7 separate regions of the Homo sapiens genome follow, and all the other regions are linked to region 1. Evidence: promoter capture Hi-C in 16 types of primary human blood cells and fetal thymus (Javierre and others, 2016). All regions are on one chromosome and are shown on one strand. Each heading gives the region's core, a stretch centred on a gene start or on the middle of the fragment in contact. The rest is flanking DNA. Distances are from core to core; before and after follow the strand shown.

Region 1 (3,954 bases), core at 555-3,054:
CTTCTCCTTCTCCTTTGCTGGGTCCTCCTTTTCTTTCCATCTCTTCATGCAGGACTCCTCCAGGGTTCAGTCCTTGATCTTCTTTTTTCAGTTTTCTATCTACACTCATTCTAATGGTTTGAAATACTACCTATGTGCCAATTACTTCCAAAGTTTGATCTTTAGCCCACACCTCTCTGTCCTGCTGCAGAATCATACATCCCAACTGACTAGTTGACACCACCAATCAGATCACTAAAAAGTATCTCAAACTTAACATTTCCAAAACTGAAATCTTGATCTTACCTCTCAGATTTGTTCCATCTGAACTTTCCCGCATTTCACCTGATGGTAACTCCATCCTTTGAATCACTCAGGTCGAAAGTCTTGGAGTCATCCTTGACTCTTTCATGTCCTCCCTTCAGTTCCATCAGTAACTTTACCTTCCAGAGGAATCACTTCTCAACCACCTACACAAGACTTACCCTGGTTCAGGCCACTATCATTTCTTCCCTTCTTCCACACACCCTGCCCCTGCATAGGCTCTTCTCAAAAGAAGATTCTGAATGACGCTTTTACTTTATTTTTATTTATTTTTTTGAGAGGGTCTCACCCTCTCACCCAGGCTGGAATGCAGTGGCACCAACATGGCTCATTGCAACCTAGCCTTCCAGGCTCAATGGATCCTACTGCCTCAGCCTCCTGAGTAGCTGGGACCACAGATGTACACCATGCCCAAACAGATATATATATTTTTTTACTTTTTGTAGACATGGGGTCTCACAGTGTTGCCAAAGCTGGTCTTGAACTCCCAGGCTCAAGCAATCCTCCTGCCTTGGCCTCCCAAAGTGCTAAAATTACAGGCATGGGCCACTGCACCAGCCTGATACTTTTAAGATGTTAAGATCATACCATTCTTTTCCTCAAAATTCTATAAGAGATCTTCATCTCACATAAAATAAAAGCCAAAGTCCTTACAAAACTCTACACCACCTGTCCAATCTCAACACTTCTTGCCTTTCCTGGCTTGCTACTGACTAGGAGCATTGGAGCTGGCTGTTTGCTTTGCCAGGACAGCTTTTCTCCTTGATAACCAGCTTTTCTCAGATTAACAGCTCTTCCCTCAGATAACTAGTTTAGCCCATTACCTCCTTCAAACCTTGGCTCAATGTAACGTTTTCAATGAAGCCTACTCTGAGAATCCTATTTAAAATTGCAACGTACTTTGGGAGTCCAGGGCGGACAGATCACCTGAAATCAAGAGTACAAGACCAGCCTGGCCAACATGGTGAAACTCCATCTCTGCAAAAATACAAAAATTAGCCGGGCATGGTGGCACGTGTTTGTAGTCCCAGCTACTCAGGAGGAGGAGTTTGCAGTGATCGGAGATCGTGCCACTGCACTCCAGCCTGGGCATTAAAGCAAGGCTCCGTCTCAAAAAGATGAATGTCTCTTCATCTTCTTTTATCCTGTTCTATTTTTTTTCCATACCATGTCTTACTCTGTAGCTCACCATAATTTATTTGTATGCTCATTTTAGGTTTCCCTCAAGTAAAACGTAAACTAATCCAGGCACGGTTTTTGTTGTTGTTCCATTATTTTGAGGGCTGGGCACATAGATGCGCAAGGAGTGCCCAAACTCATCATCTCACTCTTTATACAGCTGGGCAAACTGCCTAAAGTTTCCTCAAGCCTCAGCTTTACTATTTTCTTGAATGGCTAAAACTCACAAAACACATCTAGCGTCAAAAACTTTGCGACCCCGGAAGTAAAAGGTTAAGGAAGGGGGTCACAGGAGAAGGCTATTTCCGTTTCCGTACGGAAGCAAAGGAGCCAAGACCATGGCGAAAGCCGGGGATAAGAGCAGCAGCAGCGGGAAGAAAAGTCTAAAACGGAAAGCCGCTGCCGAAGAACTTCAGGAGGCTGCAGGCGCTGGGGATGGGGCGACGGAAAACGGGGTCCAACCCCCGAAAGCGGCTGCCTTTCCGCCAGGCTTTAGCATTTCGGAGATTAAAAACAAACAGCGGCGACACTTAATGTTCACGCGGTGGAAACAGCAGCAGCGGAAGGTACGCGAGAGGCGGGGGCTGCCGGGCGCTTGCGCGTTGTTCCTGACGCTTAGGGCGGTCGCGGGGCGCACATCTGTGGTTGTCTGCTGGTCTCAAAAGTGTTCTCTGTGGCTCCGTGGGAAGGGTGGCGTCGCGGCCCACGTGTTCTGGTCCCCTCGCCCTAGTTTGGAGACTCTAGGTTCAGCCTTTTGCCTGAGCGTCAAGGTGGAAGATTATCTTGATAGGCTCTTTCCTGGGACGCTAGATTCACAAGGAAAGCTGTAAGGCCAGTTGGCTTAGTAGTGAAAACTACGCCCTCCTGGCCCAGAAGGCAAAAGTCTCAGCCCTTTGGTCCGTCTAGGTAGCGTTGGTTAATTTGCAGAATCTGAAATGGAGGCAATACGTAATAAATCCAAAATACTGCTTCTCTGATTCCTGCAGGAGCTCCTTACCGAAATTAGTACTGTAAAGTTTCTGGTAATTGTATTTGTTCTTTTCAGCTTTATCCTTATACGTTTCTGGTAGGTAAACAAACTGAAACGTAAAGAGGTTTAAACGACTTGTCAAGGTCGCAGTGCTCATTTCTGGTTAAATTGCAATTGGAAGAAAACGTTTGCTTATTCTTGCACATCGTAGAAGTTCACACAATATTATTATTATGTGTCTGCCTCCTCTTACTGGCCCTTCTGAGGCCCGGGACTGGTTCTTACTCATGTTCAGTGTCAAGGTGCTGTTTCAATACATACAAGGGGCGTTTAACTCATTCTGGTATGCACGTATTGGGGAGGGATGTCCTGGAAGACTTATTGGAGCTATGATTTCTAATCTGAAACCTGGTGGATTGAGGATCAGTAGGTGCTGGGGAAAAAAGAATATTTTTTATTTTGTCAAGCATTCTATCTAGAAATCTCCAGAAGAATATATAGATTGACAATACAAATACAGATAATCTTAAGCCACCTTGCAAGCTCTTACTAAATTTTAGAAGTATATTTTGATTATAAAATATGTGAATAACTGGTGATGGTTTTATGGAAAACAACCTGAAAACTCAGCTCCCATTCCTATTTTTAGTGCTTTTCAAGAGAAGCAAGCAGCATAACCATGGTCGTCTTTAGGATGCCACCAGTTAGGCAAAACAAAACACAGTGGAAACCATCACATACTTTAATTAATTTGAGGCTTTATGGAAAAAGGTTAAGCTACTCAAATTTTAAATGTTCAAACTTGCCAGTTTAGATTTTTTTAAAGGAGCAGGTCTTTGTTAAAGAAATCTTATTGATTGGCCAGCTCATTTGGCTTACAGTAATTTAGGTAGAAAACTCCACGTCCAGATGCTTATTTCAATAGATTACAAAGACCGCCCAGTTCGAGTATTCATAGCATTAGTAATTTGTAGTTTCAGTATGTGTTTGTGATATAACTGGTTGTTTCTCAGTATTGTTCTCTTTTTTTTTAACCCTTTAGGAAAAGTTGGCAGCTAAGAAAAAACTTAAAAAAGAAAGAGAGGCTCTTGGCGATAAGGTAAATAAAATTTTTAGCTGTTTGCTTTCTATCTTATATTAGGGAATCCCTCCTGATATTTAAGTTGAATTACTTTCTTTTAAAATTTATTATTACGTATTTCAGATGTATGAAGAAATACAAAAGTAATATAATAAACCTCTTTGTATCATTTACCCAGCTTAAGAAATAATGCATTAGCAAAGAATGTTGGAAGCCCCTCGTCTGCTTCATAATTGCTTTTCCCTCCGAAGATAACCACTCGTGAAATTTTTGATTATTTTTTCCATGCACTTCTTTTACCTTTACTGTGTATGTTTGTGTACCTATACGGTAACACAGTGGTGGTATTTTGCATATAACTTTGTGTTTCAGAGGTCAACACCTCTCCCTGACTTTGGGAATGGGGAAGCTCCCCCAGGTT
Region 2 (3,954 bases), core at 524-3,023, 480 kb before region 1:
ACCTGAAAAGTGGGGTGGGAATCCTCTTTTTGGTTTATAATGTGATGCTTTTGTTTTCATTGTTTCAAGTCTCTCAAGACTGATGGCATAGTATAAGAACCTGCCTCTCTGCTCCCTAGTTGTGCCCTCAGGCACATTCATCTGCCTTGGCTCTGCTTCCACTGGCTCTCATAGACACTTAATGGCCTGCCTACCTCAATGGATTCCCAGCCTTGAAAGAGAGTGGAGGTAGGACAGTGAGGAAGCTCAGGTGAGAACCTGGAGGAGCAAGTCAGGAGCCCAAAGGACCCGTCCAACACTGGGCCCCTGCCCTTCTCATTGCAAGAAGGTAGTGCCAAGTATCCCTACAATGAATAGAGGAAACTGAAGCACAGTCTCTCTCCTGCATGAGGGGAATTTCCTCTGGTGGAAGGATACTGGGAACAAGGGGAGGGGGAGCATCTGAATGCTGAGAAGAGATGTTGGGAACTTTATGCATCTGACAATCACTGTTCTCAAAGGTCATCTCTGGCAAATGTACAGGGGAGGCAGGAGAGGTCTTTAATGTCTGTCAACTGTCCCTCCCTTACACCTTATACCTTGTGCCCAGGACTTCTGCTCAGACCTAAGCAGAGGTCCCAAATTCCTGCTCTCACCTTTGTGAATTCCCCAAATTAGAGTGCAAAAGTGAGCTCACAGCTGTGCCTTGCAATATCAGGACCCTGAAGCTGGAGACCTGGGAATCTGATATAAGAGGATAGAATAAACTGAAATTTGAAGGAGATAGATATGTGTGTTGTGGGTGAGGGAATGCAGAGGTTTACAGCTGAAGTCCACAAATACAACACTGGAACCAGAAAGTAGTCTATCACATATTCTCCTTCTCTGACTATCAACTCTTACTCACTCTCACCAAGCCTGTTCTCCAACTTAGTATCTTCTCTCCTCAGTAACACCAACTGCCTGCCTTTCTCCCAGTCTCCATGATTTAATCAGTCTTTAGTCTAATCAAAAGAAGTTGCTTGAAAGACTATAATCTGAGGAGCCACAGACAAGATTGGGTGTTATGAATTATTAATATGCAAATATTCTATAATCAACATGTAAGTATTCCAAATTGAACACTGGGAATTGATACAGTTTGGATATGGGTCCCTATCCAAATCTCATGTTGAATTTTATTCCCCAGTGTTGGAGGTGGGGGTGGGAAATATTTGAATCCTGGGGACATATCCATCATGAATGGCTTAATGCATCCCTTTGGCGGTAAGTGAGCGCTCACTCTGAGTTCTCACAAGATCTGGTCACTTAAAGTGTGTGGCACCACCCCCTCACTCTCTCTCTTGCTCCTGCTTTCTGCTATGTGACGTGCCTGCTCCCCCTTCCCCTTCAACATGATTGGACGCTTCCTAAGGCCTCCCCAGAAGCAGATGCTGCCATGCTTCCAGTACAGCCTGCAGAACTGTGAGCCAATTACACCTCTTTTCTTATAAATTACCTAGTTTCAGGTATTTATTTATAGCAATGCAAGAATGGCCTAATATAAGAACTCAGTAGTTTCAAAACTTGCTTAAAATAGTGCAACTTCAAGACCTCATACCCTTTAACCCAGAAATTTTATTTCTGAGACTCTATGCAAAGGAACTAATATTCAAAATACAAAAAAAAGCATACGCACAAAGATGTTCATCACAGTGCTATTATTATCATCAATAATTGTTTATTATGATGTCATCAATAGTGACAATGAGGAACAATTAGGCAATGATAATACATCTACCAAATGGAAAATTATGTAGTCATTTTTAAGCCTGCTATTAGGCATTTTAAACCTAGTATTAAGCCAGTTGTAATTAAATGAAAACTAAAGTTATAGAATTTTAAATTTAAAAATAATATAAAAGTAATATAGATACCATAATTAAAACTACGCATGAAAAAAGTGGAAAGAAACATGTCAAAAATGAATAGTGATTGTCTTTAGTTGGTCAAATTATGAGGGTGTTTTTTTCCTTTTTATATTCTTAAACTTTCCAAATTGTTCATAATTATCTAATGGGGGCCGGAGCTAAAAGGCAAATTCCTTTGGAAGAGGAAAAATTGTACTTGCACAGAAAACTTTTTCTCAGTTTAGTTGACAATCCTTTTAGTACCCAGGAAACAGACCATTTCCTGGAAGGGGACTCGGGGCAACAGATATGGAGAATGTAAGAAAGAGAAATGATTAACAGATCAGAAACAGATCTCACTGTCTGACATTCAAGTTTCTTCATGATCTTTCACCATGTATCCAAACAGTAGATGAGCACTTCTTAGCTGAACCTTTATGTGGCTTTCTCTTTGCCTATCAGAATCCTTCCAGTCTCTGAGACTGATTTAATTCACTTCAACCCATGAAGACTTTCCTGATCCTCTGATCATCCAAGGCTCTACTATTTCTCTTTTCTCTTAAGGTACCGCTATAGCAGTAGGTCTGCACCACCCTTTTCTGGTATTAAGCCAATTCTAAGTTATTTGTTAATTACTCACGTGTAAGTAAAATTTCCCCTGCTAGACTTTAAGTTCCTTGAAGTGGGGAATTTAGATGGTTTGCAGACTGTAGTCATTGGACAGAGGAGAGAGAGCAGTTCTAAAGCCAAGTTGGTATTATATTCATACTCTCAGTGATGTCATCTAAGTAAAATGTGCTGTCTCTGTTTTAAAATGTTGCTGCTGACCATCCATCACCAGGACATGCACTTTCCTTTTTTTTTTTTTAACAGCAGTGGTATTGTATTTTTGCTTATTCATTCATGCCAGTTCTGCTGTCCCCCTTAGGATTAAACAGATTGGATTACAAGATGCCTTGCCAAGGTTCAGGATATAGGTTATAGCCATGTAAAGAACAAAATGAAATGACTTTTAGGAATCAAACTCAAGACTCTTCACAAGACCCCACTTCTCATACTCTTGTTTGAACAACAAATATAAATTTGTGCCTCCATTTTATGTCCTTATTTAGGCAGTGGACTTTATCAATACCCCCGTTAACTTGAAAAAGAATTCTCCAATGCAAATGGTTCAATACTTTAGAAATGACATACTAAGATGACTCTGTTCCTGCCTACCATCAATACTATGTGAGTATTTAGAGATAATGAGCATCTGTACTATAGCAACCTGCCTCTTGAGACATAAACAAGAGATGCATTTCTTAAGAAAAAATCTGTAAGTCGCTAATGAAAGCAAGTCAAAGGACCCATCAACGGGCGAAGAAAGACCTAGCATCCATTATTTTTACAGAAGGAGCATAGAAGGTCAATATAATTGTTGACTCTTAACGGCAGGGTAACAACAAACTAATTCAGTTTCCCACTATATAAGAACTACATTTTACTACAACACTCATATTTCTAAACTGACTAAGAGTCAAGGCTTGTCCAAATTCCATGGCTTACTGAGTGGTCTTGAACCTTCTCTGAATTTTGTTCCTTAGTCTGTAAAATGGAGTTATCACCTGTTATGCAATATCACAGAGTTGTAATGAATCAAGTAACATTATCTTAGTATGGGTTCACCTGTCACCCTATTGTGGGGTGCAGTTCAGTCGCACACCTCATGAACTAAGTAACTATTATTACTGTAAATGTCTCCCTAACATTTAAGACAGAAAAAGATTTCCAGAGTTCTTCTTACGTTTTTAATCGACTTCTCCAACACTTGAGCATCCACCAAATATCACTGCCAAAAATGTGCTGAACATCTCCTGTTATGACCTCACTCTCCTATGTAGTGTTGTTCACATATTTTTTGCCATAAGCTTTCTAAGAAAATAGATTATTTTTCACATGATTCAAAGCATCTTTCTTTCATATTGAAGGAGCAATAATTCCTTATGCAGAAAGTTTACAGGTTGTTGTTGCTGTTGTTTGAGATTACTCCTCAATTAATTAATTCTATGTTTAATATCTAATAGAGCATATATATGTACACTTG
Region 3 (3,954 bases), core at 893-3,392, 460 kb after region 1:
CTTTCCCTTCACGAGGAACCAAGCCAGGGGAGGCCTCACTTGTGCTGGTGTGAGAAAAGGGAAGACACGAGAATCAAAGTGGTCTCCAAAGGATGGTACGTCTTAAGATGCCTGTGGCCATCCAGGAGAAGATGAAGAACAGAGACTTTAAATGGGCTTCCCTCACCTTTGCTTTGATTTCCATTTTTAATATGGAGCCAATGATTGTCATTAGGTCGCTGATAATCACCAGGACATACCAGCCGTTGATGAACTCCCACTGGTCGGTGTCACACACAGGCCGCTTGTACTTCTCCAGGAAGAAATTTAGAAATCTCTATGGCAAACATTTAAAGAAGCGTTTCTTACAAACCACACTGCCCTCTGGAAGAAGAAGGCAAGTGCAAAACAGTGCTCTCACCTGTAAAAGGACATGGCATTGCCTTTCCAATTTGCCAGATCCACCTCGAAAGTGGAGGTTACGGCACACACTTTCCCCTATAATCTGAGTAAGCATTCAATTGTCTGTGAAGTTACCTCAAATATGAAATACGTACGCGGTAACTCCAGCAGGTTCTTGTCATAGCTAACACACAGTACATTCCAAATACTTTTCATATTACCAACACATCCATTCCGATAACAACCCAATGAAGCAGGTACGAGCAGGTCTATCACCCAGAGAAGGGAACTGAGGCACCGAGAGGCTAAGCCAGGATCCGTGTCCAGGCAGGCCGGCTCCAGAGTGCGTGCTCCAAATATGAGCCCCCTCACCTTGGCAGGGAAAGGACCTTAACTTTGCATTCAGAATATCAAGGGGATTGGGGAGCATGTAAGAAAGGTGGATATTTACAAAGGACATTGACAAAGGTCAGGATTAGGCAAAATCAAATGCAGACTACGTCCCTGCTCCACAAATGGTACTCTGTGGACTTCCAATTTCCCCTGACCCCAGTGTGCATTTGTACACACGCCACAGCCAGAATAAGATATGTGGGGAGCGGAAGTATATATTCATAAGAGCCCTGAGGGTAAAAAGGCAAAATGAAACTCAGGGGAGAATTTTAAAACTATTTTAAAAACAGAATAAAGTATTTTATGCTTCATTATAATCCATTTACCATGCCTCCCTGTCAAAATGAACTCTGATTTGAAGACAAAAGATGAAACCCACACATGCTATTACTCTGTTCTTCAGATCACTCCTGAATTGAAGAGGGATTTGTTATTCTGGAAACATTCAAAAGCCTGAGAGTTCACCACTGTGCATCTGTACATATCAGCTCAGTTTTAAGCAGGATAATTATCTGATCCCACTTGACATACTCAGAGCCTTTACTCACTTCCTACACCTCAGGCTGATGAATGCCTCATAGCGGGCAACTACTCAAAGGAATCTGATTTAGTCAAAGGTCTCCAAAAAAGGCAGGTGCACAATATCGGTGGTCCACTGCTTGGGCAAACTGAGGGCGCAGGCCAAGAGGGCAGGAAGAGAATGCGAACACACTCTTACCTTCCGTAACCTTAGAGCAAGAACAATGGATCTTGTACACAGAATAAGAGATGCCAAGCAAATCACAATGACAAATGCATCAAACACCAGGACATACTGAGCATTTTTCTGAGCTGAGGAATAAAACAGAATTCAAATGTTAAACACACCTTACCGGAGAATAATTTCCAAACAAAATGGCAGTGTGAAAAGAAGTTCAAACAATAAATGTTTTGTCTATTGTTAAAACAAAATGGTAAATATCAGAAACAAATCACACCGCATTCATTCAGAAGTACATATGTAAGGCAAAACATTCCCTGATATAAAGCTATACATTTAAAAACATGTGAGCTGGGCCAGGCACGGTGGCTCACGCCTGTAATCCCAGCACTTTGGGAGGCTGAGGTGGGCGGATCACGAGGTCAGGAGATCAAGACCATCCTGGCTAACACGGTGAAACCCCGTCTGTACTAAAAATACAAAAAAATTAGCCAGGTGTGGTGGCAGGCGCCTGTAGTCCCAGCTACTTGGGAGGCTGAGGCAGAAGAATGGCATGAAGCCGGGAGGCAGAGTTTGCAGTGAGCCGAGATCGTGCCACTGCGCTCCAGCCTGGGCAACAGAGCGAGATTCTGTCTCAAAACAAAAAACAAAAAACAAAAACAAAAGCAAAAACTATGTGAGCTGCTAATAAATTCACTCAAATTTATATATAAATATTTACTGTAGAATAGAATTCAACAGAAAGTGATCCATTTGGGCTCCATTCAAAAAAAGGCAAAACTGCTGACCTACTCTGAGTTCTTTCACATAAAAGCAGAGACATCAAGTTCACCATTAATAAGAGAACAAACAAATTAAAACACCACCACTCAGAATCCCCACTTCTGCTTCTCAACCTCACTGTGCACTTTCCCAGGACATAGTGCCAATCTTATAAGCCTTCTCTGTATGTAGAGAAAATTACTTCTTGGAACAGAAGCAAGGAGGGGAGTGGTAATCAGATTTTTGGTTTGGAGCACACAGCAGCAAGAAGAATGTATGGGAAGGAGATGAATCTAACCTTAGTTTCTCTCAGACTTCACGGTAGTGTCTCCAATCCCAGCCCAGCTCTCTTCTGCCTGACCCCCACCTTCTTCACCCTACAGCCACACTGATCTTCCTTCTTTCCTGCTCTCACCTCAGGGACTTTGCACATGCTGATCTGTCTGCCTGGAACAGCACTTCTCCCACATGCATGGCTCAGCTTATTTATTTTCAGCCTCAAGTTCCAAATGAAAAATCTCCCATCTCAGAAAAGAATTCCTTAAATTCTCATCTCTATTAGCCCTCTCCTATATACTTTCATGGTTCTTGGTTACTACACACACCCAGAGCTCCTTTACTTTCCTCTGCACAACAGACACTGACCTTTCATTACATCTGCAAAGGCAGCACAGCATGGAGCACAGAGACAGTGTAGAATGGGAAAGAACATGGTCTCTGGAGCCCGACAGCCTGGCTCTGAATCTCAGCTCTGTACTCAGAAGCTGTAGAGCCTTGAGGAAGTTGCTTAACCCCTGTGCCTCAGTTTCCTCCTCTGAAAAGTGGGTAGAATTAAAAAATACCTACATCATAGGGCTATTGTGAAAATTATGCAAGTTCATATACAAAGAGCCCATGAAACAGCCCCAGGAAAATAATAATAGCAAACACTTACAGTGGTTACTATTTTATCATTAAGTGTCCATCTTCCCCATCAAGTGACAGGCTCTCTGAAGCAGGGCCCATAGGTAGTTGCTACGGTTTGAGTTACTTGTCTCCTCCAAAACTCATTTGAAATTTAATCCCCAATGTGACAGTATTGAGAGGGAGGGCCTTTAAAAGGTGATTGGGTCATGAGGTCTCTGCCCTCATAAATGGATTAATCCACTCATAGATTTATGGGTTATCAAGGGAATGGCTCTAGTGGCTTTTTAAGAAGAGGAAGAGAGACTTGAGCTAGTATGCTCACCCCCCTTACCATGTGATGCCCTGCACTGCCTTGGGACTCCACAGAGACTCCCAACCAGCAAGAAGGTCCTCACCAGAAGTGGGGCTCCGACTTTGGACTTCTCAGTTTCCAGAACTGAAAGAATGCATTTCTTTTCTTTATAAATTAGCTAGTTTCAGGCATTCTGTTACAAGTAACAGAAAACGGACTAAGACAGTAGTGTTGAATACAGCACCTGTGCTTAGTATAATGCTTCAGTATACTTTCAAATTAATGAAGAGAATCAAGCAGAACATAAGACCACTGAATAATCTAAGTTAGAACTTATGTTGGTCTGAGCTAAGTTGCGGCAGAGTGAAAGAGGGCACAGAATCGTAAGAGATGGAGAGAGTCATGGCCTGGTCTCTAACTGGACTTGGGGAATAAGGAAGAAGGACAACCAAGAATGATTCCTGGTTCCCTGTCTTGGGCAAACTGAGTTTACTCTGGATATTCATGACAAGAGAAGACT
Region 4 (3,954 bases), core at 726-3,225, 440 kb after region 1:
TTCATGCAAGAGCTACTTCATGCATGCTTTACAAACTGTGTGAAATTCTAGATATTTGGTAGAGAAAGACTCAACCTCATTGCAATATAGTAGGCTACCCTTATGCACTTTCTGTGGTTTCAGTTACTAGAGATCAACCGTGGTCTGAAAATATTGAATGGAAAATTCCAGAAATAAATACTTGATAAGCTTTAAATTGCTTGCCATTCGGAGTGGTGTGATGAAATCTCCTGCTGTCCCATCCCATCCATCCTGGCACGTGCATCCTCCCTTTGCCCAATGTGTCCATGCTGAGATGCTCCTCATCCATTAGTCATCAACATCGTCTGCTCCTGACATCTAACCATTGACATCACCATGGCTCAATGATCTGGGACCCCCTTCTGATGTATCATTGGAAGGTCAGTAGTGGCCTATCGTTACGTCACAATGCCTGTGTCACTCACCTCACTTCATCACATACACATTTTATCATTTCACATCATAAGAAGGGTGAATACAGTATAGTAAGATATTTTGTGAGACCACATCCTTATAACTTTTATTACAGTATAGTGTTATAATTGTTCTATTTTATTAATATAGTATATTGTTATTATAATTGTTCTATTTTATTATCATTGTTAATACAGTATGTTATTGTAATTGTTCTATTTTTTGTTATTGTTGTTAATCTCTTACTGTGCCTAATTTATAAATTACACTTTATCATAGGTATGTATGTATAGGAAAAAACATAATATATAAAGGTTGAGTATCCCTTATCCAAAATGCTTGGGAACAGAAGTGTTTCAGCTTTTGGATTTTTTCAGCTTTTGGAATATTAACATATACATAATGAGATATCTTGGGGGTGGGATCCCAGTCTAAACATGAAATTCATTTATGTTTCATATATACCTTATATACATAGCTTAAAGGTAATTTCATACAATATTTTAAATAATTTTGTGTATGAAACAAAGTTTTGACTGTGACCCATCACATGAGGTCAGCTGTGAAGCTTTCCACTTGTGGAGTCATGTCAGCAAAAGTTTCAGATTTTGGAGCATTTCAGCTTTTGGATTTTCGAATTAGGGTTGCTCAACCTGTATGGGATTCAGTACTGTTTAGGGTTTCAGGCCTGTACTGGGGGTCCTGAAACATATTCTCTGTGAACAAGGAGGGACTACATGGTTAAAATGTTCAAACTTCAAGTGAAGCAAAGCAAAAATAAAATTTGCCCAAGTTACAAGAAAATAAAAATGGAGCTGATTAGCAGTAAAATGAGGTCTATTCGTCTAATGTTACTGCAATATGTGGCTGTCACAAGTGAATTGTTCAGGTATCTGGAATCGTACCTGTAAGCATCACAGCTCTTGATATTGTCAAGAAACAACTCTGTGGCCAAGACCATGGTGGCAGTTTATTGAATATACGTTTCCAATGACTTTAGAAAGGCCCCTGAACATCAATACAGTGCTGGGCTATATATACATATGTGTGTGTGTGTATATATATATATATATATATATATTTTTTTTTTTTTTTTTTTTTTTTTTTTTTGAGATGGAGTCTTGCTCTGTCACCCAGGCTGGAGTGTAGTGGCACGATCTCGGCTCACTGCAAGCTCCGCCTCCTGGGTTCACACCATTCTCCTGCTTCAGCCTCCCGAGTAGCTGGGACTACAGGTGCCCACCACCACGCCCGGCTAATTTTTTTGTATTTTTAGTAGAGACGGGGTTTCACTGTGTTAGCCAGGATAGTCTCGATCTCCTGACCTTGTGATCCATGCGCCTCGGCCTCCCAAAGTGCTGGGATTACAGGCGTGAGCCACCACACCCGGCCAGTGCTGGGCCATTTTTACATGAAGGTCCACAGGGACAAGAGGGCGACTGGCTACCCCTAGATCAAAAGGCTGGGCTATTGTGCTTTTCATAAACCCATGATTCCAAGCGTGGTCTTCCACTGGATCAGTGTACCCTTTTTACAATTGTTGGAGTGTAGGTCCTCAGCAGGAGTGGGGGACAGTGCCTCGAATCGCACGAAGAGCTTTTCCTAACTACCCTCTCTCACTCTTTTGCATTCACCACTTTGAGTCAGCAATGGGTTGAGAAGGAAGTGGGCCTGAATTTTATACATTCTGACAAGTTTGGTTAAGGGGGTAGTCCTAGTAGAGGACTGAGGGTCTCACCCAGGGTGAAGGACTGAGGCTTTGTGACAGCTTGTGCACCTCCTGGACCTTTTCTCTTCCATCAGGACTGACAGCTGTGCCCCAGCCATTTAGGCTGCTTCTCCTTGCTGCTCCTCTATGGCTAGGTGTGAGCTTCTTAGGGCTGAACTGATCATTGCCTCCAGGACAGGACTGGATGGGGGACTTTTGCACACTTAAAGTTCTAACTAGAACAAAGTCCACCAGAAGTGTGTGGTGAGTGCATTATAAAATAAAAATCTTCCTGGCTGGCCCAGATGAACAGATTTGTACATTTGTAGACCATGTTAGTAAGACATGTTTTTTGAAGAGCTAATAGTCATTGAGCACTTAGGAGTCACGCCCTATTCTATGCACTTTACGTTTGACTCATTCAATCCTCATAATCCCATTTTATGGATGAGGAAATCTATGCATGGCATGACCTGTCCAAGGAGACTCAGGTAGCAGTAGGAAGAGGACAGCTGAGGCAGACAGGTTGCAGAAGCAAAGTCGTGTCTGCATTATTCCATGGTCCCATGGAAACTATTGCAAACATGTTAGAGAATCAAAGGGAAATAACAGCTCAGGAATGAATTCAATACCAGGCTCTGCATAAATTATGTGACTTAAGTGCCAGTCTTGGTTGAGGTTTATCATCACTTAGAGGAAGAAAGTAACTTGTTCAGGGCCTTAAAGTTAGGTTAAGCTGGAATTTTAACTCAAGTCTGTCTAGATGGCTCTTATGCCCACACTCTCTCCTACCAGCTCAAGTGAAAAAGCTTTAAGATGTTGTATATGGTTTTGACTGTGTCACCACAAGCCAAGGAGTTAAATTCAAGGGTTGGAGATCCCAGAATGAAACCAGCAGGCAGAAAGAATGTGTCTCCTAACTTTCACAGGGAACCCTCTAAGTGGAGGCCTATGATAAGAGAGAAAATGATTTATCCCAGATGCATCTATTAGCAGAATTATGAGACAACATTGTTCAATAAAATCCAAATAACAATACAGTTGATAAAGTGACAATTGTTTAACATTATTAAAAAGGGAGAAAACAATGTTTCTATAGATGTGAGCTAACCCTGAAAAACATTTTTCTTTCTAAAACTGTTTTGTCCAGCTGGAGGGAAAATAAATAAAAGAAAACATGAAAGCCAATAGAAGAATAATATGAGCATGAAAACCCATCATTAATCTTCTATTCAAATGGCAGTCACAGCTGCAGAACAAATGAAAGCTTTTTTTTTTTTTTTTTTTTGAGATGGAGTCTCACTTTGTCACCCAGACTAGAGTGCAGTGGCCGGATCTTGGCTCGCTGCAACCTCCGCCTCCCGGATTCAAGCGATTCTCCTGCCTCAGCCTCCTGAGTATCTGGGACTACAGGCGCCTGCCACCACACCCAGCTAATTTTTGTATTTTTAGTAGATACAGGGTTTCACCATGTTAATAGCAATTCTTGGGTTGGGCGTGGTGGCTCACGCCTATAATCCCAACACTTTGGCAGGCCAAGGCGGGCGTACACGAGGTCAGGAGATCAAGACCATCCTGGCCAATATGGTGAAACCCTATCTCTACTAAAAAAATACAAAAAATTAGCCAGGTGTGGCGGTGCATGTCTGTAGTCCCAGCTACTCAGGAGGCTGAGGCAGGGGACTCGCTTGAACCTGGGGGGCAAAGGATGCAGTGAGCCAAGATCATGACACTGCACTCTAGCCTGGCAACAGGGCAAGACTCTGTTTAAAAAAAAAAAAAAAGAGAGAAAGAAAAAAAATAGCAGTTCT
Region 5 (3,954 bases), core at 927-3,426, 410 kb before region 1:
TTACCTTTTCATAAGAACATTAAAAATTTTTTTCCTATAATTTTTAATTGGAAATTACCCAGATACTTAATATTTATTAATAACATTAGATCCTAAATTATATAACATGTTTGTTTACAGGCATTTGTTTATTCCATTACATTTACCTGATCGATTGATTTATTAAATAATTTACCTAGATTATTTACAAAAACTGTGATAGTCATTCTTTATTTCCCTGTTAACTATTTTTATAGCTGTGAATTTTAGGTGCTTACTTAAGTAAGAAACTTAAGGTTAAATATAAGGGTATTTTTACCAATAACTTGGGATTTAGCTGTTTTCATTAAACCAAGAATATTCCATGTCTTACTTGTCGAAAATTATACAAGCAAAGATCATTTTGTCTTGAGCTGGATTTTATAGTTTTATAACCCTTATGGCTTATAGTATTCTGCCAAAGTAAGCACAAAACCACTTGATCAAAAATGCTATAGTTTTATAACCCTTATGGCTTATAGAATTCTGCAGGAGTGAGCACAAAACCAGTAGATCAAAAATGCTAACAATTTTTAAGACATCTCTAATATTATTTTACCAATAATTTTAAAGCCAGATTATTTTATTAAAAATTTTACTTAAATCACATTAACTTGAAAAAGCATTTGACTAGTCTTTTCTTTTGATTATCCGATTTAAGTGCTTTTATATTTTAGCCAATTAGCTAGAGCTGTTTTATATATTTTTAGTACTGAAACATTGTGTACACAACACAAATACATAGACATATTTGTGCATGCTAATAGAAATACATCTTATAGATTCATAAGACCTTTTTTCTTTTTTTTTTTTTTTCCTATCTTAGGCTTTTAAATTCTTGATAACCTGTTTCACTATTCAGGCAGTTGTCAGCTAAGTGGCCTTAAATTTGCATATTAAAGGAAACAACTCTTAGGGGAAAATCAGATAGCAAAATTTACATCTCAAGGTACTGAGAGAGAAAGTCTGGTGTGCTAGAGGGAAGTTAAAACAGATTTAATTGCCAATTAAACAAAAAATTATAGAAATTATAAGGACCTTTTAAATACACACACATACACACACACACACACACACACACACACACACACACACACACACAAAGACCCTATAGCTTTTACTTCAGAACTTTAGCCATGAGATAAATACAAATTCCTTGGGTTGCCAAAAAAAAAAAAAAAAAAAAACACCTCTTAGACCCAAACAGTGTTTATCTCAGTGGAAAAGTAACAGCAGATTTAAAGTAGGAAAAAACGAAAATAGAAAAAAAAGAGAACTTAGGAACTCTGTCGTTTGCAGGTCGATCTTAAGGCTTTTTTTCCTTAATGTAAATGTGCACAAAGACCATATTACTTCCATTTTACACAAACTCTGGCAAGTAGAGGCACCACAAAACCTAGAGTGCTTGAAGGGAGGCTATTCTCCTTGTTTTCTCCTCATTCTTAGATTATTTGTTTCCCACACTTTTTATTTTATTTTATTTTAAAGGAGGAATTGAGCTGTGGCCTAGGGCTTTTGTGGAGTGGATTGAAGTGTTTGCTGCTTGCGAGCAGGACTCTACAGTGAGTCGTTGCCACTGTCTTATGTGTCTCAGTTTTTCTCTCTGGAGATCTAAGCCCCTCCAGATGGGCTCAAAGTATGGAGTGATCAGCTCCTATATGTGCTTCCTGGACAAGCCTTTTTAAAACTAATTTTGTTGGGGGTTCCCTGTAGGGCTGCCGCACCCCAGACACTCCCATGAGGCCCCTGGCCACCCAGGGGTGCTTTTCAGGTGGGAGGAGCAAATACCCTTTCTCTTTGGAGCTGAAGAAACGCAGTCTCTCATTTACCTATGAAAACAACAATTCAGTTCCTCACTCAAATGTGCACCAGGCCAAATTGAGATTAATTTTGGGAGAAAAGCAATGGAGAAGACTCTTTGAATGCTAGAATTAAATTAGGATCGGAGCTAGAATTAGGATCCTTAAACAGCAACTTCCTAGGAGAAAAAAAAACCAGCTCAGAATAGATCAAGGACCCTCAACCAAAGGGAGGTGCGGGCTCAGGAGGACACATGAGCTCCACCAGAGGAGAAGCTCAAAGTCAGGGAGGCTTCAGTGGGCCCCTGCTGGTACCTTAGCACTGAGTTTGGGCAACTCCTGTGGGGTCCTGAGTCTTCTCTGAGGCCCAACATGTTTGGGTGCCAAAATATTGTTAACAAAAAGTCAAACTGTACAATATTTTGAAGAGATTTATTCTGAGCCAAATATGAGTGACCATGGCCCATGACACAGCCCTCAGGAGGCCCTGAGAACATATGACCCACAACTCATGTATTTATCTAACTTTATATTTTCCTGCTGTTCATCATCCCCATATAGAAGTCCCACTACCAACTCGAACTCAGTATGACCCAAGTTACACGTCTCTCACTAATTTAAAAAACAGTTTTTTTCCCTTTTATTCCTGATCTCATTATCCACTCACTCAGGATAGAAAATTGATTGAGAGCTCTAAGTTTTTCTTTTCACTATATTGGGCATCTGCCGTTTTTGTCTACTCCATATGATGGTTTCTTCTAGAAAATTATACTTATCTCATTTCATGTCAACCATGGGGTCCTCTCTTCATAGGAATGTGAATGTTACCCATACAGAACCAATATGTGTAATATACAGGTTGGATCCCTAATCCAAAAATCAAAAATGCTCCAAAAGCCAAACTTTTTGAGCACCAACATGATGCCATGAGTGGAAAATCCCATACCTGACCTCATGTGACAGGTTGAAGTCAAAATGCAGTTAAAAACTTTGTTTCATGCACAAAATGATTTAAAATATTGTGTAAAATTACCTTCAGGATGTGTATAAGGAATACATGAAATGTAAATGAATTTTGTGTTTGCACTTGGATCCCATCCTCAAGATGTCTCATTATGTATATGCAAATAATCCAGAATCCAAAATCTGGAAACATTTTTGGTCTTAAGCATTTTGGATAAGGGATATTCACTTAACTTTATACTACACAGATGCTGGGAAAGAAAAGGCATTATTGTTTAGATTGTTAAGATGGGAGGATGTAAACTTGTCATGTGGAGAGAGCCTGTTTGGCAGAATACAGTCAAATATATGAACAGAATAAGGATTAATATGTAGAGATATCCATCCTTGGATCTATCTAATCCTAAAACCATGTCCAACCTAAATTTTCTAGTTCTGTGACCTAGTAAGTTCTGCTTATTTTTTCTTATGCTAGTTTGAATTGGGCTTCTATCACTTGTATTATGCTAAGGAGTCTTAACACTTAACAAATTCTATAGATCTTAACATTCAAGTATCTGACATGGATCCTTTCTTTTTTCTTCCACTGATATACTGTTGAATGATTTCCTGTCATTCTTCTACTACAATAGTCATCTTGCTGCCAATCTATTGTTTCTCCAACATATCCATCACATTACTATTAAAGATACCTTATTAATAAAATGTGGGATTATATTACTTCTCTCTTTAAATATCTTCAAGTTCTCTATTGCATAATAAACAAGCCTATATTTCTTAAGTGGCATTTAAGGTTTCCCCAAATAAATACAATCTGATCTGAACCTACTATTTATTCATTTATTCACTCATTCAGCAAATATTTATTGAGTACCTACTATATACGAGGCATAATGCTAGATATAGCAGATACAGTGATGACAAAATCAAAATTCCTCCATACATAGCTTACATTCCAGTGGGAAAGTCGCAACTCTTACTACATCTTTCCATAACATCGGGTCTAGTATGACCTGGGGATAATTTCCATGGAAACCTCTGCTCAAGCTGTTCTTAGTTCTCAATGATCTTCCCCATCTGTCAAACATCAAAATTCAATGCTAAATTATCTATGATTTAATGGCACTTACTTTTATGTTTCCTGAGTAGTTGTTTACATTTATGCTATAGTACA
Region 6 (3,954 bases), core at 404-2,903, 390 kb before region 1:
GGATTGCTCACCTAAACTTGAAACACTAGAACTCATGGACTATTCTTCCAAACTTATAAAAGCTAGCTGTAGAACAAGTAAAATGAATTATCGTAAAACCTTGATATAGACTGGGCTTAGACAATAAATGTATTTAACTGATTAGTCATTTATGTTTAAAGGTGAAACATGTGTTTACAAATTCAGGTAGTATTTTTAGCAATTTCAAAAGCTAGATAATGCTTTTTTACTCTTTAAAATAATTTTTTATTTTTATTTATTTATTTTGAAACAGAGTTTTACTGTGTTGCCCAGGCTGGACTCAAACTCCTGGGCTCAGGCAGTCCTGCGTAGCTGGGACTGCAGGTGTGTACCATCGAGGCTTGTTTTTTTACTCTTGATAGGTTTTATAATCTCTCTAGCCCCCAGCACTTTCCAAAAGAATCATCAGTATTTATAAGATAAGTCTTCTTCTTGCTAATACTAAGGTTTACTACTATTATGCAAATAAATTGTTTCCCCGATATGGTGGTATAGCTTAAATTGCTTTTAGTGGATTTCTTTATTTTAATTGGCTATAATTAATTTATTCATTTAGTTCATTTTTATTCCCTAGCCAGTGAAATAGGGAGTAAAGAGTTGTCTTCATGTAGCTTATAGTCTGGTAAAAGATTTAGACAAGTAAAAGCACAATTATGAGAATGTTGTAGGAAGTGGATTATAGGACGTGTTTTTTTGTAATGTGAATTAGATTCAGTAATGCTATGTATCTATGCAGAAAATTTTCCGAATCAAATTCGGGATTCTTATAAGTTAAATTGATACACTAGCATAATTGGTATTAGTTCTGCCTTCGAAAATCCAATGTAGATGCCATATTTTTTATCTGGCCTGATGTAACAAGGTATAAAGTCCCAGGCTCTATGGCCATAGTTTAATGTTATATTCACTGTTGTCTTCTATTCATATGTTAACTTTTCAGGGACATCTGAAACTTGTTTTGTTGTAAGATAACTGTGGAATCTAAACCTTTAGGTCTCTGACAAGCCTGTTTTCTCGATCTGGACTTTGTCCTTAGAAAATTAAAGAGACTATTCTTGTGATCATATTAGTTTAGAGTCCTGTTTAGTAAAATGAATATTCCATTTCTATACTGTATTCTTCTTAAGTAGATGACCATATAGCATCAGCAGGCCATTGTTATATGTGAGCCACAAACTTGAGAGAACATGTTGGTATAGATATTACTTCTTTTACAGGGGCTAGCTCTACTGGTAACTTAGCTCTTTCAATCTTAGCTCAGCTCCCTCTGAGTAGGAGCCATGACAGGTTAAACTGTGGAAGAATATGAGCCTCACTTTAGGCTGTAGTCTTTAGGTCATGAATAAGCCATAGTTCAATTCATAGAATGACAGGCAAAACATTCACTTATTTGTCTTTCATTCATTCTTAATCAGTACTTATTGAGCGCCTACTTTAAACCAGGCACTATGCTAGTCTGTAGATGCAAATAAAAATAAGACTTGGTTCCTGTCCTTAAATTGGGAGACAGATACAGATATTTATAGTAAGGCATACAATGATACATAGGTGCCTGAGATTAATACTAGGGTGAAAATGTAGCATAGGAGTTTATAGAGGAGTAGTATAGAATTTCTGAGATCATCTTGGGAAATAGACTGAAACTGACTGAAATGGAAACTTCCTTTGAGTCCATTTTGGAAATATTTACATCTATAATTGTAGCACTTGTACTACATTGCTTTTTCAACTCTTATACCCACTACAGTGTGATCTGGCAAAGCAGTGTCTATGTTGTTTAGTGTTTTAATCTCTGGAATGTGGCACAGTTCTTGGCTCATGTCATGGTGGAAGCTAAAATCATGGATAGTTAAATGGATCAAAAATTCAAACCTCCTGTAGAAGCGTACATCCTCCTCCCTTTCCTCCATTGGCAGGAACTTTGTCAGTAATGTATTGACTATTTGGGGATAATAGTTGATTAATGTGATAAGAGGGTACCTCTTTCCCCCCTTTTTATGGTATATAGTAACTTCTTTGACATTTACATATCAAAATTATATCACAGTTGGTATGGGGAGATTGGTCTCAGGCAGGTAGGAAGAAGACACTGGACTAGGAAAAACTAGAGTATTATGCTCCCAACCTTTTGAAAAATTTGTTATTCAAGGCATGTATCATTCAACTGTGCCACTGTGTTTCTCATCCTTGTTGCTGTCATTTACCAGTCTCTTGCTTACTTCTTATTCATCAAATATTTTGGCATCTGGCCCACAATGTTTCTCTATACTCTAAGCTCTGCATTCATCCTGGATGGTTTCAAATTCTATGTTAATGACTCATCTATCATCACTGCACCTCTGTTCTTTGACCATGTTATCTCCTATTCCCCTTTTGTTCATTCAGATGTCTAGTCTTGCCAAAGACCTTGTAATATTCATTAACTGCTCAAGAATCACCAATGTGTGTGATTCTTTGATCACAATTTCCTCTCCTTTTTGCTTGCTTTTTAAATATTCCCATTATGATCATTCTTCATCAGAACCTCTCATCCATTTATCCATCAGTCCTCTCACTTTCATTTTTTCTTCTTAACCATTCTAGATTACTTGGTCCCAAAATTCCTTTGCACATCTGCCTCTTTATCAAATCTCTCTAACAAAAATGTAACTCATGATAAACTCAGCTATGTGCTTTCTCAGTGCTTTCAGTCAAGAGCTAAGCACTGCTAGAGAAAGCTGCACAGAAGAACACTAGAAATTTACTATCATCAACCTCAAATGAGCTGTCAACATGACTTTACAGTTTTACCACATTTCTCTGATCAACTCTGTCTCTCATTCTTCACAAGTTCTATTTCATTTCTCTCTCTTTATACCTCTGACTTCTCCATTATCTCTCTCATTCTAAGTCATGATATTATGTCATATTTTACAAGGAAAATAAAAGCTATCAGACAGGAACCCCTTTAACTTCTTCCTATTAAATGTTCACACCTACTGTATTTTAACTTGACCATCTTATTCTGTTATAATAGAGGAGTTGTCTGTTATATTTATCTATTGTTCCATCATGCAGGACTCCTAAATTTAGCAGCTTAAAGAGTGACAACATTTATTTTACTTATGAAAGTAAGTAATTTGGGCAGAGCTCAGCTATGCACTCTATATGACATCAGCTATCTTAGCTCTGCTAATAAATCACTGCTATGGTTTATGGGGACTAGAAACACATGAAGCCTTGCTCATTTACATGTTTCCCTGTTGATGCTGGCTGTACAGGTAATTTGAACCTTACCTGGGACTGTCAGCTGAAGCACCTACACATGACCTCTACATGTGGCTTGGGCCCCATATCATGTGGCTAAGTTCCAAGAAGGAGGGAGAGAGCCAGGTATAAGCTGTATCACCTTTTATGACCTAGCCTCCAAAGTCAAGCAGTGTCACTTCAGCTGCATTCTGTTTGTTAAGTGAGTCACTTAAATGAGTCTGTATCAAGGGAAGTTGAATTAGATTCTGCACTTTGATGGAAGGAGTTAGAAAAATTTGGGGACATGTAGAAATCACATTGTACATCTTTCTCTGCAAGCCCAATCACTCCACTATTACTTTGGATCCCAACCCCTCCTGCTTTCCCAGGAGTCTTTGTATTCTTATCTTTTATATGTATAATAATATGTCTTCTCATTTATTTAAAAAACGTGTACCCCTTTTCCCTTCACTTTCAGTTTTCTCTTTGACCCTACTTTCTCTTTCCCTTTCTCATCGCTCACCTACTAAAGTGAACTGGCCTGTGATTTACAGTATGTGTGATCAAATCAGTTGACTTTGGTGCCCAGGCAGGTAATTTTAATGTGTCTTGGGTAAAACCTGAGACGAGAAGAAAGAAGAAAGAGAAAAATGTTCTTTTTCTGCTCTTGCTGTATTATAGTTACTTACAATCAGGTTACAGAGA
Region 7 (3,954 bases), core at 1,075-3,574, 370 kb before region 1:
TAGGATACAGAGTAATATTTTGATACATATGTAATGTGTAATGATCAAATCAGGGTAATTAGTATTTCCTTACCATAAACATTTATCATTTCTTTGTGTTAGGAACATTTAAATCCTCTCTTGTACTTGAAAATGTACAGTAAATTATTGTAAATTATAGTCACCATACAGTGCTATGGAGCACTAGACCTTACTTTTCCTATCTAGCTGTGATTTTTTATCAGTTAACCTCTCTCTAATCTGTAGTAACCCACAATTATCTAATTCTCTTCCCAACTTTTAATAACCACAATTCTCCTATCTACTTGTATGAGCTCCACTTTTAAAAGCTCCCTCATATGGGTGAGAACATATGGTATTTTTCTTTCTGTACCTGACTGATTTCACTTAACATAACATCCTCTAGGCTCATCCATGTTGCCACAAATAACAGGATTTCATTCTTTGTTATGTCTAAATAGTAGGTCATTGTTTATATACATATATATACACTTTCTTTTTCTGTTAATCTGTTGATAGATGTTTAGGTTGATTCCATATCTTGATTATTGTGAATAGTGCTGCAATAAACATGGGGTGCAGATGTCTCTTCAATATACTGATTTCCTTCCGTTTGCATTAATAGCCAGCATTGGGATTGCTGGATTATATCTTCTATTTTTAGTTTTTTGAGGAAGCTTCCATACTGTTCCATAATGGCTGTACTAATTTACATTCTCACTAAAAGTATATGAGAGTTCCCTTTCTCTGCATCCAAAAAGACTATTGTCTTTTTAACAATAGTCATTCAAACCGAGGTGAGATGGCTTTCATTTGCATCTCCCTCATGATTAGTGATGTTGAGCATTTTTTCATATACCTGTGGCCATTTGTATGTAGAACCAATGCTTTTAATCACATGTCAAACTGCCTATGTCCCAGTCCTTTCCAGAGAGCCCTCTGGAACCCTTTTTCTATTGTAAACAAATTTATTTAAACCTACAGGTTTTCCATGGAATAGAAGTTTATTCCTCAGTACCTTGCATCTACTAGTTGGGCAGTTATGGTGAGCATATCTTTTTGACTTAATTCTAGAGTAATTATATAATTGGAGATAAAGCTGGGAACCATTCTTTACTTAAAAAGTCTCAAGTGGGACTCTCCTTGGAGTGTTCTCTAAAAACAAAACAAAAAAAATCGTTTTCTTAAAGGCATTTAGTTAGCAGAGCACAGCTGACTGAAAATTTCTTAAATACAATTCAGGATAGTTTGTATAAATAACCAAAAGGTAAATAACCAATGTAGTCCTCATGAGACATTAAAATTTTTTTTCAACTGAATCTCTCACTGCACTGTTAATTGGAAGTCTTCTTTCTTGACCATTCTCTAGAACAGAATACAACTGCGGTCACTCCTCTCTTCTGGATGTTTTTTTCTGGACCATCCAATTCATTTCCACCCCCTTGTTATGGAGAGAAACTTTCCTCTTTCATGGAAAAGTCATTCTGACATCGAGGCACCACGACTTTTGACCTAGAGTAAGCATATCAAACTATTTTTCTCAACTCAATAATTTACAGAAAAATATTAAGAAGGTGAAAATTTTCCATTCATCATTACCTACATGTAAGAAAAAAAGAAAAGAAGAAAAATCTACCAGAATCCTAGCATTTACAGATAACCACTGTTAGCATTTATTTATTTATTTATTTATTTATTTATTTATTTATTTATTTATTTACTGAGACAGGGTCTCCTTCTGTCACCCAGGCTGGAGTGCAGTGGTACGATCACAGCTCACTGCAACCTCCACCTCCCGGATTCAAGTGATTCTCCTGCCTCAGCCTCTTGAGTAGCTGGGATTACAGGTGCACGCCACCACAGCCCAGCTAATTTTTGTTCTTTTTAGGAGAGATGGGATTTTGACGTATTGGTCAGGCTGATCTCGAACTCCTGACCTCAGGAGATCCACCTGCCTGGGCCTCCCAAAGTGCTGGGATTATAGGTGTAAGCCACTACACCCAGCTTGTTAGCATTTTTTGAATACTGTTGGCTTTCTATATCCACAGATTCAAACAATCAAGGATTCAACCAGCCATGAATCAAAAATGTTGAATCAACAAAACAATAATAAAAAATAAAGTAGAAATAATAATAACTATTTACATTACAGTATAATAGGTATTATAAGTAATCTAGAGATTATTTAAAGTATACAGGAAGATGTGCATAGGCTATATACAAATACTATGCCATTTGACATAAGGGACTTGAGCATTCATGTATTTTGATATCCAGAGGCGCCCTGGAACCAATCTCCCATGGATACCAAGGGGTGATTGTATATCCTGTTTAAAAGTATATGGGTGAGTTTCCTCCTAGTCAACATAGTGTTGGAAGTCCTGGCCAGAACAATCAGGCAAGAGAAAGATAAAAGGCATTCAAATAGGAAGAGGGGAAGTCACATTATCCCTGTTTGCAGATGACATGATTCTATATCTAGAAAACTCCATAGTCTGCCCAGAAGCTCCCTGATCTGATACACAACTTCAACGAAGTTTCAGGATACAAATAAATATACAAAAGTCAGTAGCATTGCTATACACTAACAGCACCCAAGCTGAGAGCCGAATCAGGAATATAATCTCATTCCCAATTCCCACAAAAAAGGTTAAAATAGCTAGGAATACAGCTAACCAAGGTCAAAGAGCTCTACAATGAAAATTACAGAACACTGCTGAAAGAAATCAGAGATGACACAGACAAGTGGAAGAGCACTCCATGCTCTTAGATAGGAAGAATCAATATGGTTAAAATGGCCATACTGCCTAAAGCAATTTACAGATTCAATGCTATTTCTATCAAACTACCAATTACATTCTTCACAGAACTAGAAAATACTATTCTACCATTCATATGAAACCAAAAAAGAGCCCAAATAGCCAAGGCAATCCTAAGCAAAAAGAACAAAGCTGGAAGAATCACATTGCCTGACTTCAAACTGTACTATAAGGCTACAGTAACCAAAACAGCATAGTACTGGTATAAAAACAGACACATGGACCAATGGAACAGAATAGAGAGCCCAGAAATGAAGCCACACACCCAGGAGGAGGGAGAGGTTCAGAAGAGAAAGATAAAAAGGAAAACAAATGAACAAACAAAAAAACCAAACCTGTTGAGTAGTATGCTTAGTACCTGGGTGACAAAATAATCTGTACACCACACCCCCAAGTCACAAGTTTACCTATATAACAAACCTACAGATATGCCCCCGAACCTAAAATAAAAGTTAAAATATATTTTAAAACATATATAAAATGGATATATGTGTCAGTTTTAACCAACTGATGTTTGACAAGGCTGATTAAACAAGCAATGGAGAAAGGACTCCCTGTTCAATAAATGGTTCTGGGATAATTGGCTAGCTGTATGCAGAAGACTGAAACTGGACCCCTTCCTTATACCATATGCAAAAATCAACCCAAAATGAATTAAAGACCTAAATGGAGAACCTAAAACTGTAAAGCCCATGGAAGATAACCTAGGAAATACCATTTTGGACATAAGAACGGGCAAAAATTTCATAACGAAAATGGCACAAGCAATTTCAACAATAGCAAAAGTTGACAGATGGGACCTGTTTAAAGAGCTTTTGCATAGCAAAAGAAACTATCAACAGAATAAACAAACAACCTACAAAAATATTTTCAAACTATGCATCTGACTAATGTATAGTTAGTCTGGGTCTAATATCCAGAATCTACAGGGAACTTAAACAAATGTACAAACAAAAAGCAAACAGCCCTATTAAAATGTGCACAATGGACATGAGCAGACACTTTTCAAAAGAAGACATACATGCGGCCAACAAACATGAAAAAAATGCTCAATATGACTAATCATTAGAGAAATGCAAATCAAAACCACAAGATACCATCTCACACCAGTCAGAATGGCTATTATTAAAGAGTA

The links. Contacts are between HindIII fragments. The CHiCAGO score rates a contact against its expected background, and 5 or more counts as called.
Region 2: a contact is called between a fragment that was not itself captured here and the fragment with the promoter of RPF1 in region 1, in 1 of 17 cell types (naive B cells). The highest score is 5.3, in naive B cells.
Region 3: a fragment that was not itself captured here is called in contact with the fragment with the promoter of RPF1 in region 1 in 5 of 17 cell types (M2 macrophages, naive CD4 T cells, naive CD8 T cells and 2 more); the score reaches 7.2 in M2 macrophages.
Region 4: a fragment that was not itself captured here is called in contact with the fragment with the promoter of RPF1 in region 1 in 1 of 17 cell types (M2 macrophages); the score reaches 8.1 in M2 macrophages.
Region 5: a contact is called between a fragment that was not itself captured here and the fragment with the promoter of RPF1 in region 1, in 1 of 17 cell types (total B cells). The highest score is 5.8, in total B cells.
Region 6: a contact is called between a fragment that was not itself captured here and the fragment with the promoter of RPF1 in region 1, in 4 of 17 cell types (total B cells, fetal thymus, naive CD8 T cells and 1 more). The highest score is 6.3, in total B cells.
Region 7: a fragment that was not itself captured here is called in contact with the fragment with the promoter of RPF1 in region 1 in 1 of 17 cell types (erythroblasts); the score reaches 5.4 in erythroblasts.

What each region holds. Positions count from the first base shown.
Region 1 is chr1:84,477,462-84,481,415 of GRCh38, forward strand. It overlaps RPF1 (ribosome production factor 1 homolog), which reads left to right and starts at 1,805. Exons shown (of 9, transcript NM_025065.7): 1 at 1,805-2,048; 2 at 3,495-3,551. The coding sequence starts at 1,821. RefSeq lists enhancers at 1,466-2,026, 2,222-2,381. The HindIII fragment of the contact is 6,088 bases long and covers 1-3,954 here.
Region 2 is chr1:83,994,145-83,998,098 of GRCh38, forward strand. All of the region lies in intron 1 of TTLL7 (tubulin tyrosine ligase like 7), which reads right to left. Among named protein-coding and RNA genes, the nearest start is that of TTLL7, 3.0 kb to the right of the region's middle. The HindIII fragment of the contact is 4,005 bases long and covers 1-3,776 here.
Region 3 is chr1:84,939,387-84,943,340 of GRCh38, forward strand. MCOLN2 (mucolipin TRP cation channel 2) reads right to left here. Exons shown (of 14, transcript NM_153259.4): 8 at 1,493-1,605; 9 at 167-316. Among named protein-coding and RNA genes, the nearest start is that of LPAR3, 48 kb to the left of the region's middle. The HindIII fragment of the contact is 4,398 bases long and covers 1-3,954 here.
Region 4 is chr1:84,920,948-84,924,901 of GRCh38, forward strand. No RefSeq gene overlaps it. Among named protein-coding and RNA genes, the nearest start is that of LPAR3, 30 kb to the left of the region's middle. The HindIII fragment of the contact is 1,949 bases long and covers 1,002-2,950 here.
Region 5 is chr1:84,069,715-84,073,668 of GRCh38, forward strand. No RefSeq gene overlaps it. Among named protein-coding and RNA genes, the nearest start is that of TTLL7, 73 kb to the left of the region's middle. The HindIII fragment of the contact is 4,399 bases long and covers 1-3,954 here.
Region 6 is chr1:84,087,314-84,091,267 of GRCh38, forward strand. It overlaps a transcript of PRKACB not described here. Among named protein-coding and RNA genes, the nearest start is that of PRKACB, 55 kb to the right of the region's middle. The HindIII fragment of the contact is 8,490 bases long and covers 1-3,954 here.
Region 7 is chr1:84,103,872-84,107,825 of GRCh38, forward strand. It overlaps a transcript of PRKACB not described here. Among named protein-coding and RNA genes, the nearest start is that of PRKACB, 38 kb to the right of the region's middle. The HindIII fragment of the contact is 3,298 bases long and covers 676-3,954 here.